Linked DNA regions of Homo sapiens: region 2 is linked to region 1. The links are contacts of gene promoters, found by promoter capture Hi-C in human tissues and cell types (Jung and others, 2019). All regions are on one chromosome and are shown on one strand. The core of a region is centred on a gene start or on the middle of the fragment in contact, and the rest is flanking DNA. Distances in the headings are between cores, read along the strand shown.

Region 1 (4,499 bases), core at 657-3,156:
CAAAAAAAAAATTTTTTTAAACTAGCTGGACATTGCCAGGCGCAGTGGCTCACACCTGTAATCCCAGCACTTCGGGAGGCCAAGACAGGCAGACCACTTGAGGCCAGGAGGTCAAGACCAGCCTGGCCAACATGGTGAGACCCGTCTCTACTAAAAATACAAAAATTAGCCAGGTGTGTTGGTGGGCACTTGTAATCCCAGCTACTCGGGAGGCTGAGGCACAAGAATCACTTGAACCTGGGAGGCAGAGGTTGCAATGAGCCATGATCGCACCACTGCACCCCAGCCTGGGCGACAGAGCAAGACTCTGTCAAAAAAAAAAAAAAAAGATTAGCTGGGCATGGTGGTGCTTACCTGTAGTCCAGCTACTTCAGAGGCTGAGGTGGGATGATCACTTGAGCTCAGGAGTTCGAGGCTGTAGTAAGCTATGGTTGTACCACTGCATTCCAGCCTGGGTGACAGAACAAGTCCTCTTCTCAAAAAAGAAAATATAGTTCAAAGTAGAATCAGACAGTGAGTAGCCAGCTAATAAACACATAACTGACCACCTCCCACCCCTCCAAGTGAGAATTGGGAGGGCAGTGACCACACTGGCACATCCCATAGGCTTGGTGCCACTAGAGAGTTGTAGGCAGGTAGATCAAGGCAGTGCTTCTAGGTAACTGGGTTCAGCATTCCAAGAAGGCCTTTCAAGGGTTTCAACAGAGAAGGCTCTTGGTCATCCTCATATTCCTGCTGGCCAGCACGGTGCCTGAAACATGGTAGCCACTGATTAAATATTTGCTGTTGAGTGAAAGTACAAGACTTGAATCCAAACTCCTCCCGCTAAGCCCTGCTGGCCTCGGGGAGGACGAGAGAGCCGTGGGCTGTTTCATGATTTACCCTCTTTTACCAAAGAATCGTGTGAGATCCTCTGAGAATATTCCTCATCATGCCCCATGTCCCAAGCCCTTTTTTACCTTCCCAAGGGAGGACAAGAATATGACCCCTCATTATAAAGGGACCCCTCTGCCACTCATGTCCTCAAGCTGGTTACTTGGTCCAGCTTGTCAAAGAGCATGTGGGGCAGCATCTGAAATGAGGCCAGGGTCAAGGTTGCCCCGCCACAGGGCGGAGCTGGACCTGTGCCTCCTTCCATGCATTGGAAGCCTTCTGTGGAAGCTGAGTTCTTTGGGTTTCTTGTTTATTCTGAAGTTCCTCAAACTAGTTCCTCAATTTCAGAACCAGTCACCAGTGACTACAATGAACTTGAATTCTCCTATACAGGGAGCCTGAGCCTGTCTTTCTTCATCTTTTCTGAACACAGGTAGACGCTGCTTGAAGCCACTCCCACCTCTGAAAACCAGATTTCTAAACCCAGAAAGGAGCGGTGGGTGGTTGTATTTCAGCGAGATTGACCGTAGCCTAGGGAACTTCTTGCTCAGAATCCACCCCAAAAGGTTAAATAAGGAGAGTTGTTTTTCACAACCAAAATGCTGCTTGTAACGATGATCTCAAAGCTTGGCAAGATCACAAAGTACGTTTTGAGTCATCAAAGAAACTGGCTGTGTTTCACATGATTTTAGTGTCAAGGGCAATTATGGCCATCTAATCTTTGGAAATTGGTCATGTTAAGTGGCATACAGGGCAGCCCCCACTTAATCAGAATATTCAGTTACACAAAATACCCTAAGTTGCTGATTTCGATGACACTTGAAATTTTTTTAATTAATTAATTAATTAATTTTTTTTTTTAATTTTTTGAGACAGAGTCTCACTCTGTTGCCTAGGTTGGAGTGCAGTGGCACAATCTCGGCTCACTGCAACCTCCACCTCCCGGGTTCAAGCGATTCTTGTGCCTCAGCCTCCCGAGTAGCTGGGATTACAGGCACCCACCACCACACCCAGCTAATTTTTGTATTTCTAGTGGAGGCAGCGTTTTGCCATGTTGGCCAGGCTGGTCTCGATCTCACAACCTCAGGCAGTCCGCCCGCCTGGGCCTCCCAATGTGCTAGGATTACAGGTGTGAGCCACCACTCCCGGCCTGAAAAATTTTTTATACAATATACATTAAACATTCCTTGTTGCTTATTGTATAAAATTAAGTACACGTGTGACAGGTTTTTATCTCAATACTACCTTGCCCGACATGTTCTCCTGCATATTGGGTCTTTGTGGATCCATGATGCCCCCTGTGGCGTCTTTTCTATTTGCTGTTGGCTCTCCTTGTGCAAAGGATTTGAAGGTTGAATTGAAAATACCATTGTAATACTTCTCTTTTAAAGCTTATAAAATGCCCTGTATCAGGGCCTGGGGGCAAAAGTACTGATGAAATTTATGAAGATAGCAAATGATGCTCGAGTCTTTGTTATAAAAAGAATGGTAAATAGGTTCAAGAAGCCTGCAGCCAGGCTTTGTAAAGTGAATGGCAAATTTGCATTTGTCATAGAATTTCTCCTTGGAATGGGCCTGGCTATGTCAGGCCTGGGTGGGCTGAGGAACACAGGCCCACCACAAGTCCAGCTTGGAGTCTTTCTTCCCTGTTGTCATTTTAAAGTTGCTTTTTCCAGAACATAGGCTGGCTGTAGTTCATGCTTCCTAATTAAGGTGCTTCCTCCCAGGCCAGTCCCTGAATTTCTCACTAACCTTTGACTTGTGACAGCTTCTGCATCTCGGTCCCAATTTTTAAAGCTTAGATCATTTGGGAGTAGGAAGAGTGTCATGGTTAAGAGTATGGGCTTTGACATAAAAGTCTCTTGTGCAAATCCTGCCGCTGCCACTTCACTGCTGTGTGGCCTTGGGCAAATTACTTGGCCTACTGAGGCCCAGTTTCTTCCTCCTTGTAAACGGATAACATTAGTGCCTTGCTCACAGAGTTGTGAGGATTCAAGAAAAAAATGCACGCATTACCTAATACATGGCAGATAATAATAGCTGTCATTATTATTCATTTGTATGATTACCAACAACCAGCATGTAGTTATGTGTATACAAATAGCAGATTGTTGTAACACTCAAAGATGACCACAGGACAACTAATTTCAGCTTTAGCTGCCAAGGAATTGTGGGTCCCAGTTCATCACGCAGAGCTGAGGCACTGCCAGTGGACACAGAAGCCAGATGGGGTGTGCAGAATGCTCTTCAAAGAACATCTTCATGGGTTCTTGCCGACCACTCTGTCCCTCTGCTTTCAGGATTGTCCTCCTCCTGCTTTGACCACATCTGTTCCAGACTTTCTGTCTGATGCTAGGGCTGCTGGCTAGAAGCTGTGGGAGGTAGGCTTCAGTGCCTTATAGCAGCAACTTTGAAGCAACTTAACACTTATAGACCATGACTCACATCTGTAATCCTAGCACTTTGGGAGGCTGAGGTGGGCAGATCACTTGAGGCCAGGAGTTTGAGATCAGCCTGGCCAAGATGGCACAATCCCATTTCTACAAAAAAATAAATAAATGAAATTAGCCATGCGTGGTGGTACATGCCTGTAATCCCAGCCACTTGGGTGGCTGAGGCATAAGAATCGCTTGAATTCGGGAGGTGGAGGTTGCAGTGAGCCAAGATCACACCACTGCACTCCAGCCTGGGTGACAGCAAGACTCTGTCTCACAAAAAAAAAAAAAAAAACGGCCGGGCGCTGTGGCTCACGCCTGTAATCCCAGCACTTTGGGAGGCCGAGGCAGGTGGATCACGAGGTCAGGAGATCGAGACCATCCTGGCTAACATGGTGAAATCCTGTCTCTACTAAAAATACAAAAAATTAGCTGAGCGTGGTGGCGGGTGCCTGTAGTCCCGCTACTCAGGAGGCTGAGGCTGGAGAATGGTGTAAACCCGGCAGGCAGAGCTTGCAGTGAGCCGAGATTGCGTCACTGCACTCCAGCCTGGGCGACAGAGCAAGACTCCGTCTCAAAAAATAAAAAAAATAAAAAAACATAAAACCAAAAAAAATCTTACACTTCCAGTCATACAAAGGTCTGACTGCTCATCTTGTAGCGGCTTCCATCTCACTGGAGGTTCCACTGATGTTTCCAGAGTGCCCACTGCATGCCAGGCACTGTGCTATGTAATTTAAACTTTGTTCCTTGCATTGAGTCACCGTGTAAAATTCTATCATGTAGGTTTGAGGATCCCTATATTACAGATAAGACTCCTGAGTCTCAGATTATGTGACCTGCCCATGGTCACACACCAGAGTATTGAGAAACTAAGATTCAAACTCAGATCTTCTGACTCCAAGGCCATCCTGTCATGTAGCTGAATGGCCATTCCTCAGGATTAGTAAGTAATATGTTGGAAGAAATTACCTCTGAGGGTCTTTCTGATCCTAAGAGCACTTTGATTATTCCTTTATGATTTATTTATCCATCTACCCATTTTTTCCCCATCTAGACTATAGGCATGTTGAAAGCAAGGATAGCATCTTCACAGCAAATAAATAATACAATGTTTGGAAACCACCTATCTGATGCTATCTACTTCTCTGACACATAGAAACAGGAGAAAAGATATAACCCATTAACAAA
Region 2 (4,609 bases), core at 846-3,345, 340 kb after region 1:
GGAGGGCTCTGCGAGGGCTGTGGGTGGCGGGCGAGCCCCAGCGGCGTAGCAGAGGAGGGGCCCCCGAGCGAGCGTACTAGGGAGAAGGGGGTCCGTGCAAATCCCAGGCTGACGACCGCGCACGCGCCCCTCGGGTCACCAGCCCTGTCGCTCTTGGTGGGGCACACCGAGGAGACCGCCGTGGGGAACCGGGGACCGGATTGCCTGACAGCCGAGCGCTGAAGACTACTCTTCCTGAGCCTAGGGAGGTCTGGCTGCCCTGAGCCCCCTACCCCTGGGCTTTGGGCAGTAAACGGTACCTAGAGACTCTATCGCGCTGAGGTTGGAAGAGCCTGGAGCCAGGCTACGAGTTTGAGTCCCGGCTCTCCCACTTATTAGTTGTGTGACTTTAAGCAAATCTCTTAACTTCCCAGAGCCTCAGTTCTCCATCTGTAAAATTAAAATAATCTTGGATTTTACTTCTTTGGACTGATGTGAAGATCAAGGGTGATCATGTATGTAAAACATTCAACACAGGGCCTAGCACAGAGTAAACCCTGAATAAATGCTACTTATTGAAAATTTTTTAGCTCCCTCCTTGGTGGTGGTGGGGTCACTCCAACCTGGCCTCAGCCATTAGTGCTTGGAGGGTCCTCTTTCACAGCCCCCTCGTTGGATGTCCCTGTGTCCTTCTACTCCCAGCCCTGGATGAGGTGAGCGACCTCAACCTTGGGTAGGGAAGGCCAGGGAATCATTTTGCCCATGGTGAAGGGTCAACAGGGAGAGTGTGAGCCGGCGGGGGGTAGCTCTCGGGAGAGGAGAGGCTGGGATGTCATTCTTTAGCAGCCGGCCAGTCGCCTCCGAATGGCTGAATCCTCCCCGGTGGGCCGGATAAAGGAGGGCGAAGGAGGAGCGGTGGAGCAGCCCGACCTGGGCCTCAGATAATGTGACAAATATTTTGATGGAAGCAGACACGTTTCGGTTTATGCAACCTAAACACTTTGCTGCACTTGAGGAAGAGGAGAGCCTCCCACAGCCTGATGGGGAGAAGAGTTAGGGGGCGGCGGAGGAGGCTGGGGAGTGAGGGAGGAGGAGCTGAGGGGCTGGATGAGATCCACCCCTCATCCTGGAGGCTGGAAAAGGGGGTTACCCCTCAGGGACGTATTTGCATCTGTCAGCATGGAGAAATAACGTGGGGGTGCCCACCTTTTTAGGATCCCCTTTTCTCCCTGGTCTAGAGGCAGAAGTAAAGGGATTGAGCAGAGGGAGATGGAAGAAAAGGGCCCAGGAAAAAGCAGCCTGGCCACAGTTCGGTGAGGAAGGGGCAGAGGCGAGGAGGGGTTGGAAGCTCCTGCCCCACCTCGGGGGAGACGGGTCCCGGAACAGTCAGATCCAGAAAGGAGGAGGCGGCTGCCGTCTGGCTCCGCTGGGCCCCCGGACAGGCATTCATCCGATATCTGGATCTCCCAGACGGGTGGTCTGCGAGGCCTGAGTGCCAAATGGTCCCCTCCGTATCCTCTTCTTCGCTTCATAACCCCCTTTCTCATCCTACCTTCCAGCTCCCCGCTCCGTCCTCCCCTCAATCGCTCTTTGTCCCCTGCAGACCTGGGCGCTATCCCCTCGCTTCCGCCCCCTGCGGGTCTTGGCCCGTCGCGACCCCAGTCCCTCTGTTTTCCTGGTGACCGACCCTCGAAGCCTCTCCTCTCCCGATCCCCTCGGAGCTCTCTAGCTCTCCCTGTGGCCCTCTCTCCCTTTCGCATTTTGGTCCCTACTCTCCCCTTCCCTTGGAGCGCCTCTCGGGTCTCTCGGACCCCGGCCCCCACCCCATTTCCGAATCTCGGTCTCCGCGTACTCAGTCTCTTCTTTCCTCTCCCTGCTCCCGCCCGGGGTCTCCGCGGCCCCGCCCCCTTATGCCCCGCCCACCTCGAGGCGCCCGCGGCCCAATTAGGCGCCGGCCCCGCCCGCAGCCCCACCCCTAGAGAGCCCAGAGCCGCGCGGAGCTGGCGGGGCGGGGCCCGGCCGAGGGGGCGGTGGCCCGGCTCAAGGAGGCGGGAGGAGTCAGGCGGGAGGCTGCAGGCGGGAGGCGGGAGGCGGGAGGCGGCGGCCGCGGCGCTCAGTCCGGCAGCGCAGCAGGAGGGAGGCGCGAGGCAGGAGCCGGCGGCTGGGCTCCGCAGCGCAGCCAGCGCAGCGCGGCGCCCCGGGCCCGGCCCCATGCCCGCAGCCCCGCCGGACCGTCCTTGAGCGCGGGCGCCTAGCCCGCGCCCCCTGCCCGCCGGCACCATTGCCCCGACGGCGCGGCCGGGCGGCCCGGCGCTCCCCAGGCTCCGCGCGGGCCGAAAGACGCTGCTAGCGGCCGCCGCGGGTGTGGTGATGCTGCTGGTGCTGGTGGTGCTCATCCCCGTGCTGGTGAGCTCGGGCGGCCCGGAAGGCCACTATGAGATGCTGGGCACCTGCCGCATGGTGTGCGACCCCTACCCCGCGCGGGGCCCCGGCGCCGGCGCGCGGACCGACGGCGGCGACGCCCTGAGCGAGCAGAGCGGCGCGCCCCCGCCTTCCACGCTGGTGCAGGGCCCCCAGGGGAAGCCGGGCCGCACCGGCAAGCCCGGCCCTCCGGGGCCTCCCGGGGACCCAGGTCCTCCCGGCCCTGTGGGGCCGCCGGGGGAGAAGGGTGAGCCAGGCAAGCCGGGCCCTCCGGGGCTGCCGGGCGCGGGGGGCAGCGGCGCCATCAGCACTGCCACCTACACCACGGTGCCGCGCGTGGCCTTCTACGCCGGCCTCAAGAACCCCCACGAGGGTTACGAGGTACTCAAGTTTGACGACGTGGTCACCAACCTAGGCAACAACTACGACGCGGCCAGCGGCAAGTTTACGTGCAACATTCCCGGCACCTACTTTTTCACCTACCATGTCCTCATGCGCGGCGGCGACGGCACCAGTATGTGGGCAGACCTCTGCAAGAATGGCCAGGTGGGCCAGGCGGGGGCATGGGGCTGGGCTGGGCCCAGGGCACCCAGGGAGCCCGGGGCAAATGGGTACCTGATCGGAGTTGGCGGGGGCGCCAGGCGGACGCAGGTGGAGATCCCACCCCACAGCGGCCCCGCTTGGTCATCACGTGTGGGGATGGTCGGAGCCAGCGGACATCGCCGATCCTCAGTTCCTGGGTTCCCGCTCCAAGACAGACGCTGCTGGGCACCGTCTGGAACGCTACTGGAAATGCGGGAAATGAACCCAACTAGTCAGAGCGCAGGGCTCCCAGGTGCACGGACTTGCCCTTGGGGGCTTGCCCCTTGGGAAGTGGATTCGGGCCGACAGCAGTGGGCGATAAGGGGAGGGCAAGGATGGGCTCTGGCGTATGGAACAGGGAGAAGCAGCATCCGCGCCCGCGGGCGCCTAGGCGCGTGGCCATGGGCGCGAGCGGAGAAGGCTGGCTGCAGGAAATGTTTGGGGCACAAAGGCAAAGGGAGCCCGGTGCTTACAGCCCTGGCTGCAGTGCCTCCCCTGCCCTGGAGAAGGGACCATTGGGCGAATCTGACACCCTTTGCAAAATCCGGGAGTTGGGGAGCTGTTTCCCACTGTAGCAGAGCTTCCCCAAAAAGAAGGCAGTCTGGGGGGCGGGGGAGTTTTTCCTCCTGAGGCGGGGAGGGGGTGGGGGGTGGGGGGTGGTGGAAGAGATGGAAACTCCCCCTCCTCTTGGTCTCCCAGCTCCAGCCCCTCCTGACTCTGGAGTGTGTGGGGTCCTCTCCATTCTCCGTCCCCATCTCAGACGCTGCAGCTGGAAAGCACTGAGTGTGTCGGGGACTCTGGTACCGGGACTCGCATGTGCGTGTAGCTCTCCTTGGAATGGCCGACCCCAGGACCAGCCTCCACCCAGCCCCGCCCTGGGGTGACAATTTTAGCCAGCTCTCTTGATACCACCTCCCTTCCCAGTGCTCTCACTCGTGGTGGCCTGTGACCTGGGGGTGTGGTCAGGCTGAGCATTCTCTTCGAAGAAGGGGACCACTGGTCAGAACTAAAGCTGAGCTAGTGGAAGTTGAGAAGGAATCTCTCACGATTAAGATACAAGACCTTGTTGGAACCCTTCCCACAGCAGCACTGCCCTGAGGCTCTGCCAGCCTGCGGGTCTGCAAGTCTTAGGGGCAGAGACAGGGGCAGGCAGGGAAAGTGAGCAGATAGCCTGCCAGGTGCTTATAAGTCAGCCCTTCTTCTCTTTCCTCTGCCTGGCTGCTGCCCCGCCAACACCTTTTCTCTGGTTTCTGCCTCTCCCCTGCCTCTTTCTTCTATTTTGCTGTTTCTTGTCCATCTCTCTCCTGTGTCTGCCTTTTCCATCTCTCCCTGGGTTTCTGGCCTCTCCTCCCCGGATCTAACCCCACTCTTCTCTATTCCTTGTATGTCTCTCTTTCCCACGTGTGTCTATCAGACATCCCCGTGTCTCTCCTCTTTGTCCTTGGTTCCTGACCAAATGGGAGGCCCCAGTATCCAGCAAAGGCTCATTCTGCAGACAGCCCCATGATTCCCCCTATTAATCACCAATAAGGGATGCAGCAATGTCACCTTCATCAATGGAATGTCTTCCTTTCCCAAAGAAGTTTGGGCTGACACAGAGCTGAGGTTTCAGGGGATTGGCAGCTTG

What was found. The method cuts DNA at HindIII sites, captures the fragments that hold promoters and counts their contacts. A contact is called where the count stands out against the background at its distance.
Region 2: the fragment with the promoter of C1QL1 here is called in contact with a fragment that was not itself captured in region 1 in 1 of the 25 tissues and cell types used here (hippocampus).

Annotation. Positions count from the first base shown.
Region 1 is chr17:45,304,501-45,308,999 of GRCh38, reverse strand. All of the region lies in intron 1 of MAP3K14 (mitogen-activated protein kinase kinase kinase 14), which reads left to right. Among named protein-coding and RNA genes, the nearest start is that of MAP3K14, 10 kb to the left of the region's middle. RefSeq lists an enhancer at 1,149-1,288. The HindIII fragment of the contact is 4,981 bases long and covers 1-4,396 here.
Region 2 is chr17:44,965,789-44,970,397 of GRCh38, reverse strand. It overlaps C1QL1 (complement C1q like 1), which reads left to right and starts at 2,095. Exons shown (of 2, transcript NM_006688.5): 1 at 2,095-2,946. The coding sequence starts at 2,350. It also overlaps the pseudogene LOC112268183. RefSeq lists a silencer at 1,805-2,164. The HindIII fragment of the contact is 17,092 bases long and covers 1-4,609 here.